Linked DNA regions of Homo sapiens: regions 2 and 3 are each linked to region 1. The links are contacts of gene promoters, found by promoter capture Hi-C in blood cells and fetal thymus (Javierre and others, 2016). All regions are on one chromosome and are shown on one strand. Each heading gives the region's core, a stretch centred on a gene start or on the middle of the fragment in contact. The rest is flanking DNA. Distances are from core to core; before and after follow the strand shown. Region 1 holds the start of SMIM18 (small integral membrane protein 18). Region 2 overlaps DCTN6 (dynactin subunit 6). Region 3 has its middle 36 kb from the start of DCTN6-DT.

Region 1 (2,673 bases), core at 62-2,561:
GGAAGACTATGAAAAAAGAGATGACAATGTGTTAAGGACAAACACCACACAAATGGCCAATTATGAATCACAAACAGTTGTGCTTATGAGACATGATGCTTATGTCTCTGGCATCTACTACTAACTCAATGTCAAGCTTAGTAAACACTCAATAAATATTTGTTGAATGAATGACTATAATACAGATATTTCTATGCATTCCTTTATGGCCCCAGAAACTAATGTACCAATTCATCTATAATTTTATTTTATTTATTTTATTTTATTTTATTTGAGATGGAGTCTCACTCTGTCGCCCAGGCTGGAGAGCAGTGGTGTGATCTCAACTCACTGCAACCTCTGCCATTCGGGTTCAAGCAATTCTCCTGCCTCAACCTCCTGAATAGCTGGGATTACAGGAGACTGCCACCGTGCCTGGCTAATTTTTGTACTTTAGTAGAGATGGGGTTTCACCATCTTGGCCAGGCTGGTCTTGAACTCCTGACCCTGTGATCCACCCAACTCAGCCTCTCAAAGTGCTGGGATTACAGGCATGGGCCACCGCTCCCAGCCTTCATCTATAATTTTAAAAAAGAAGTCTACATAGCATGTACCTGGTCTGCTGCTGTTGTTAACAGCCACTCCCATAATTAAAAACCTTCATTCTGTTGTGCTTAGACCATAACTCTAAATAATACACAGTAACTAAAAATACTCTGTCTCTAAAGAGCCAACCTGGAGATCACTTTGCCATTTACATTTTAGAGACTATTTTTTGAATGCAGGTAGTGTATTTACCTAAATGAGCCCTCTTCCAACTTGCAGAGCTAAAAGCCAATTATTTTCCTTCATAATTCCTCCTAAATCAAACCACCACATGGAAATAATCACTTCCAGAGTGCAAAAATTATATACGGAACAAGTAATGAAAGAAAAGGAAGAACAAGAAAAATTTATAAGATTTTATGCACACTTCCTGAAGGAAATATCAGGCTGGCAAACCTGGACTGTTTGTTTCCTAGGTTACTACCTTTCCCGACATTATCTTCCAGCCCTAGCACTGAAGTATTCACTGAAGGATCTGAAATTTTATAATGAAACACTAAAGAATCATCAATTTGTTAGTAACTCACAAATTCCTATATAGGAATTTAGCTTAAGAACAAAAAAATAAAGGAGAAGGGATGACAGTTGATACCCCAGACAGCTCTATTCAAGTTTATGAATGATTTACTCTTAAGGGTGGCAAGACTTAATGCAAATGAACATAGAGGAAACTGTCAGCTCCATTGTGGTTCAACCAATAGAAGCACAGCTCCATCTTGGCTGTGCACTAGACTGCATTACAAACAGACGATACCATCGCTTCAGCAGCATCCTCTCAGACAAGAGGTAGGTTTATATGATCTTTTTTATTTAGTGGTACATGTCCTTATGATGCAATAGGAAAATATTTTACCCTGAAAAATCAACCAGAAAGCTTTGCTCCTACTAAATATCAAGAAAAAGCAATGTATTCGTTTCACCGCTTGGTAGGATTTTATTATGAAAATATGAAGACTGCCTTGTGCTATTTGATAAGCACCCTTACCATCTGTGCCTTAATGGAAAATTCATTACATTTTACATGAACCTGATCTATATCCAGACCTCAGAGTAAACCATAGCTTTTTATTTTAACTGGTTACTTGCTAATTTCATTTTCTCTGAGCGATTTCATTTCTGCAGTTTGGTCTGTCTTAACAAAGGATTTTTCTTAAAGAAAAACCCAGATCAAAAGCGAATTCCAGACTAAAGCTTTCTGATTCTATGTGCAAATGATATTGGCTGCTAAAAAATAGTTACTTATAAGAAAGTTTGTTATATTTTTTAGAATATGAGAAAATAGTTCAAAATTATTTTTATTTTGCTTTGAATGTAGATGCAGAGAATGCCAAGAAATTATCACAATTTTAATTTTTATATAAAAGATCATAAAAGGTATCACTATATGGGCTGCATTATACTACACTGAACAGATAATTTATACAGCTTCAGACTTCCTTAACATTTAATTAAAGTATTTCTTCACTGTGAAATTTCTCTCTCGTAATATAAAGTCATGCTATTAAACAAAAACCTTCTTAAATAGCCTTTCATTTTTGATATCAATTTATCACACCATTTAAATATAATGTTGAAGTCATTCTTAAACTGATCCTCAAAATAAATACAAAGTAAGTCCTTTTGATAAACTGCATTTTAAAATAAAAATATGTCCTAAGAAGAACTGGTTAAGAAAGGAGAGTAAGTACCTTTCTAGGTAACAAGATTATCTTCGTGGCTCAGAGCAATCATTCATGTCTATTAAAAATTAATATTAACTGCTGACCAAATTTCTAATTTTATACTATTCAAGCATGAAAATTTAGTTATTTACTAGATGTTAGAACTCCATCTATATACTATATCGGACCTAAAGAGCCAGCTTCTGTCCTTTTACCTTGCTGGTAAGTTTATTTAATCTTTAAAGGGTTTTTGTTTTTTTTTTCTTCATAATTTCTATTCCTTTTCTTAGTCGGCATTCAGCTAGCCTGAGCAAAGTATCCCCTGCAAAACCCAAAGGTTGCTGTAATAAGATACTAGATCTGTCCAGGTTCAGCACAGTGGGGTTAATTATCTAGAAACCATTTGTGCTTGCTACAGAAAGTACAG
Region 2 (2,673 bases), core at 95-2,594, 460 kb before region 1:
TCAGCCTGTGGTAGATAAAGCTGGGAGGGAGTATGTTAGCATTCCAGGCTCAGGGCGGGGTAGACCGTGCTGGTGAAGTGGGAGTAATGAGGGCCCTGGCTGTTCCCTTCAATTCGAGACTAGAGGCATCGCCTCAGGGCTCCCCACGCCAAAGTCCTCGGACTCCAGTGATCACCTTTGGGTCCTTCTGCTGCCTCCCTTTAACCTTTTCAGCTTTCACTGGTTTAAATCATATCCTGGGCCAGACAGCAGAAGCTGTGCCACCTTTCAGTAGGTGTGCTTGTAATAGGGACACTGACAGAGGAACAAAGCTGTTAGATCCCATAATTTCTGACTTCTGTCCACCCATATTTCTCCTTTTTTTTTTTTCTTTTTTTGAGACAGGGTCTTGCTCTGTCACCCAGGCTGGAGTACAGTGGCATGATCTCAGCTCACTGTAGCCTTTGCTTCCTGTGTTCACATGATTCTCCTGCCTCAGCCTCCCAAGTAGCTGGGACTACAGGCGCACATACCATCATGCCTGGCTAATTTTAGTATTTTTTGGTACAGATGGGGTTTCGCCATGTTGGTCAGGCTGGTCTCGATCTCCTGACCTTAAGCGATCTCCCCGCCTTGGCCTCCACATTTCTTCTCAATTATGTAATAAAAAGACTAATTCGGAGGTACACTCGCATAAGAAAGCAGAACAGCTTAAGCAAAGAGAGTGTTACCTTGCTGAGGGAAAAGAAGGAATTAATTTTTATTGCCACCTTTGTGTCACATGCTGTGTCTCCAGCATTATCGCCCCTAGCCCTTACAGCAACCCTGTGGGACTGGTGTTGTCATCACCTCTGTTTCACCGCTGAGATCACAGGAAGCTTCCGAGTGGAGGCTGAGCCAGAGCTGTCTGGCTCTAGTGCCTGTGCCATTCCACTCACATTGGCTTGCAACTTGGCCCTGACTACTGATGATAAAGCCTGGGAGATAGTATCTGTGAAGTACCTAGCTTGGTGCCTGGCACATACTTAGAAAATGTTCCTCCCAACAGCCTCACCCATCCTCAGTCACCTTCCACCCTTCTGTTGGAAGCATAGCCTCCACCAATAATTTCTTCTCAAACTATTTTTAACAGGACCTCGGACAGTGATCCACCCTAAAGCAAGAATTATTGCGGAAGCCGGGCCAATAGTGATTGGCGAAGGGAACCTAATAGAAGAACAGGCCCTTATCATAAATGCGTAAGACTCTTATACATACTGTGAACCAAGTACCATGGGTAACGGTTTTTCTTAATTTCAGCTGTCTGTAAGAACCTTTTCAGCTGACATCCAGGAGGCCTACTATTTTAGAGCTAGAGAAGCATTAAGGGTCTTTTTCAACATAAGTAAATGAGCAAACCAAATACCATATGAGGGAAAAGACTTGTCCAAGATGAGAGAGCTGAGTAGCTGCCTAGAATCTTTGACGCTCGGTCTGGTGATCTTCCCCTTACATGTGGCTATCTCACCCATTCCTTAAGCAAACATTTCCCGAACACTTCAAGCCTCCAAGTGCTGTGCCCACCACCCTGCAGAGTTTTTTTTTTTTTTGATTTTTTGGTTGTAGCTGAAATGTTATTACTCATGCCTAAACACGTGAATTTAACTCAAATATATTTTTTCACATGTTTTGCACAGGTGACACCCAGAATTATAGTTGAAAAATGTGGAGTCTTAGAGGCAATTTTTAAACTGTAAAGATTAAAAATAATAAAATACTAGAACATGTGCATGATCTGAGTGAACTAGACTGTAATACGTATGAATTTTTCATAAACATAAGTTCTTTCTAGATAAAATTTTGGGAAGGAATTCAAGCTTATACCTAATTTATAGCAACCATGTATGGAATTTGTAAGAAAGACCTTGGGAAAATATTTAACTGTCAGAAAAAGACTGATTTAATGCTTACTTAGGATTTAAAATACATTTGGCACCTTCAGTGTAAGTCAATTAACAGCAACTATATTCTGCAGTAACTCAACTGTCAGAGATAAAGCACCATTTAAAAATGGCGTCCACCTCTTAGAACACAAACATTTTATCTTCCAAATATTTCAACTAGCTAACTAATAGCAATAATTATTTTATGTGAATATCTGTTTATGTTTCACAATCCCAAATGATTATTAAGGGTGGAAAATTTTCAAGTTAGGCATGATTTTGGTTCTAATTAACAGCCTAAAAAGATAGCTAGCATCTTCTTTCCTTTGTCCTGGAGAAGACCCACTGGACTTTGAATTTAAAAAATAAAGTAGGCTGGGCGTGGTGCCTCATGCCTGTAATCCCAGCACTTTGGGAGGCCGAGGCGGGCAGATCACGAGGTCAGGAGTTCAAGACCAGCCTGACCAATATGGTGAAACCCCGTCTCTACTGAAAATACAAAAAAAAATTAGCCGGGCGTGGTGGCACCCCACCTTGTAGTCCCAGCTACTTGGGAGGCTGAGGCAGGAGAATCGCTTGAAGCTGGGAGGTGGAGGTTGCAGTGAGCCAAGATCGTGCCACTGCACTCCAGCTTGGGGGACACAGCAAGACTCCGTCTCAAAAAAAAATAAAAAATAAAAAAATCAAATAAACTAAGGAAGGCTATTCTTTTCCACACACCAATGACTTCTTCACTTTTCAGTAGCTCTCTTCAACTCAAAATCAAGCCTTC
Region 3 (2,673 bases), core at 61-2,560, 450 kb before region 1:
CAGGTTCACATGATCCTTCCACGTCAGCCTCCCAATTAGCTGGGACTACAGGCATGCACAACCATGTCCAGTTCATTTTTAAATTTTTTTTTGTAGAGACGAGATCTCCCTATGTTGCCCAGACTGATCTCGAACTCCTGGGCTCAAGCTATACTCCTGCATTGGCCTCCCAAAGTGCTGGGATTACAGGTGTGAGCCACAGCACCCTGCCCCAGATGGCATTCTTTACATTCTAACTTTATCATAATGCAAATAGAAACATTAAAAAGCTCTTTACTAAGTTATAATTATTAAATTTTGTTTGTCCCACGTAAAATCAAGTGCATTTTCAGTTTTGAACACTGAAAATGAAGGGTGAAATCTCTCATGTTGGAAATGATATTTTGCTAAGGCTGCCTTCCTCTTTTTGCAAGATATGTGGCCCCTTCTGTATGTTTAAAGCTCTGCACCAAAGAAGAGACATATGAGATCAAGGACAAGCTTCTGTCTTTCATGTCTTGGTCCATTTAAGCTGCTGTAACAAAATGCCATAGACTGAGGGGCTTAAACAATAGAAATTTATTTCTCACAGTTCTGGAGGCTGGGAAGTCCAAGATCAAGGTGCTGGTAGATTTGATATCTGGTGAAGGCCATCTTTTTACTGTGCCCTCACATGGCAAAAGGGGCAAACAATCTTCCTTGGGCCTCTTTTATAAGGATGCTAATCCCATTCATGAGGGCTTCATCCTCATGACCTGATCATCTCCCAAAGGCCCCACCTTCCTTTTTTTTTTTTTTTTTTTTTTTTTTTGAGATGAAATTTCACTCTTGTCCCCCAGGCTGGAGTGCAACAGTGCAATCTCGGCTCACTGCAACCTCCACCTCCCAGGTTCAAGTGATTATCCTGCCTCAGCCTCCCAAGTAGCTGGGATTACAGGCATGTGCCACCACACCTGGCTAATTTTTTGTATTTTTAGGAGAGACGGAGTTTCACCATGTTGGCCAGGCTGGTCTTGAACTCCTGACCTCAGGTGATCCACCTGCCTCGGCCTCCCAAAGTGCTGAGATTACAGATGTGAGCCACCGTGCCTGGCCTAGTCCCCACTTTCTAATACCACCATCATGGGGATGGAATTTCAAACATAAATTTGGGGGATGGGACACAGATTCAGACCATAGCACATCACTTTCTTCTTCCTAACAGATCTTCAATTTTGTTCAACTATCCACCCATCCATGGATTGACTTTAATCAGTCCATTCCAATGAATATTTGGCCTTTCTCTGATCCACAGGTGCATGTATAATTTGCCTAATACAAGCTAAGGGAAGAACATATTTCATAGTTGGGGGAGGTTTTCCTTCTTCCACTGGATGTGAATAGGGGAACATGCTGCCTGTTTGGAACTGGCAGCCACCTTACCACCATGAGGGGAAGCAACAAAATGCAAAGATATAAAAAATATAGATGCTTCAAGACATGGCTGAACCCAAACTTAGAGCCTAGTCCTTGTAGATAATACATTTTCTCCCTATTTAAGCGAGAGTGAACTGCGTTGTCTGTGACTTGCAGAAATTTTGTGTCCTGTTACAAAATATCAAAAAGTTGCCTCAATTTTCTAGTGTCCTGCTCTACTGATGCAGTAAGCATCTGCCTGGTCCCAACATTGCTGGCTGCTGTAGGGATGGTTAACTGAAAAGGGGCAAGAGCATATTATACATGTACAGTCACACACTGCATAACAACGTTTCAGTCAATGACAGACCACATGTATGACAGTGGTCTCATAAGATTATAATGGAGCTGAAAAATGCTTATCACCAAGTGATGTCATAGCCATTGGAACATCATAGTGCAACACATTACTCATGTGTTGTGGCAATGCTGGTGTAAACAAACCTACTGTGCTGCTAGTTGTATAGAAGTATAGTAGTTATCATTGTGTTACAATCACCTATAGTATTCAGAGCAGTAATGTGCAGTACAGGTTTGTAGCCTAGGAGCAATGGGCTATAGCCTAGATATATAGTAGGATATATCATCTAGTTTGTGTAAGTACACTCTGTGATATTCATACAATGATGAAATTGCCTAATGATACATTTCTCAGAACTCATCCCCATTGTTAAGTGACACATGATTGTAGATATGAAGCCAGAGAAAAAGCTTTGTTTAACAAGAGATAATGGCAGCTTTGGGATGTGGCAATAAAGATATGGACAAGTGGAAAAATTAAAGATGTAATTAAGAGACAAAACTGATAAGATTCAGGGATGAACTAAATACTAAGGGAAGGGAGAGACAGGTGGCAAGCATGACCCTAGGAGTTTCTATTTTGCATAAGTAGATGGATAGTGATACACTCACTAAGCTCCAGAGATCACCAGAACAGAGAAGGTTTAATATTGAAGAACAAGAATTTGATGTTTGCCAGGCGCAGTGGCTCATGCCTGTAATCCCAGTACTTTGGGAGGCTGATGTCGTGGATCATGAGGTCAGGAGTCCGAGACCAGCCTGATCAACACGGTGAGACTCCGTAAAAATACAAAAATTAGCCGAGTGTGGTGGTACATGCCTGTAATCCCATCTACTCAGGAGGCTGAGGCAGGAGAATCGCTTGAACCCGGGAGGCAGAGGTTGCAGTGAGCCGAGATCATGCCGCTTGCACTCCAGCATGGGTTACAAAGCAAGACT

What was found. The method cuts DNA at HindIII sites, captures the fragments that hold promoters and counts their contacts. A CHiCAGO score of 5 or more calls a contact.
Region 2: a fragment that was not itself captured here is called in contact with the fragment with the promoter of SMIM18 in region 1 in 2 of 17 cell types (M1 macrophages and endothelial precursors); the score reaches 7.2 in M1 macrophages.
Region 3: a fragment that was not itself captured here is called in contact with the fragment with the promoter of SMIM18 in region 1 in 1 of 17 cell types (M2 macrophages); the score reaches 5.9 in M2 macrophages.

What each region holds. Positions count from the first base shown.
Region 1 is chr8:30,637,269-30,639,941 of GRCh38, forward strand. It overlaps SMIM18 (small integral membrane protein 18), which reads left to right and starts at 1,312. Exons shown (of 3, transcript NM_001206847.2): 1 at 1,312-1,371. All of the region lies in intron 2 of GTF2E2 (general transcription factor IIE subunit 2), which reads right to left. The HindIII fragment of the contact is 1,323 bases long and covers 135-1,457 here.
Region 2 is chr8:30,173,974-30,176,646 of GRCh38, forward strand. DCTN6 (dynactin subunit 6) reads left to right here. Exons shown (of 7, transcript NM_006571.4): 3 at 1,112-1,217. Among named protein-coding and RNA genes, the nearest start is that of DCTN6-DT, 19 kb to the left of the region's middle. The HindIII fragment of the contact is 978 bases long and covers 856-1,833 here.
Region 3 is chr8:30,191,569-30,194,241 of GRCh38, forward strand. No RefSeq gene overlaps it. Among named protein-coding and RNA genes, the nearest start is that of DCTN6-DT, 36 kb to the left of the region's middle. The HindIII fragment of the contact is 1,665 bases long and covers 479-2,143 here.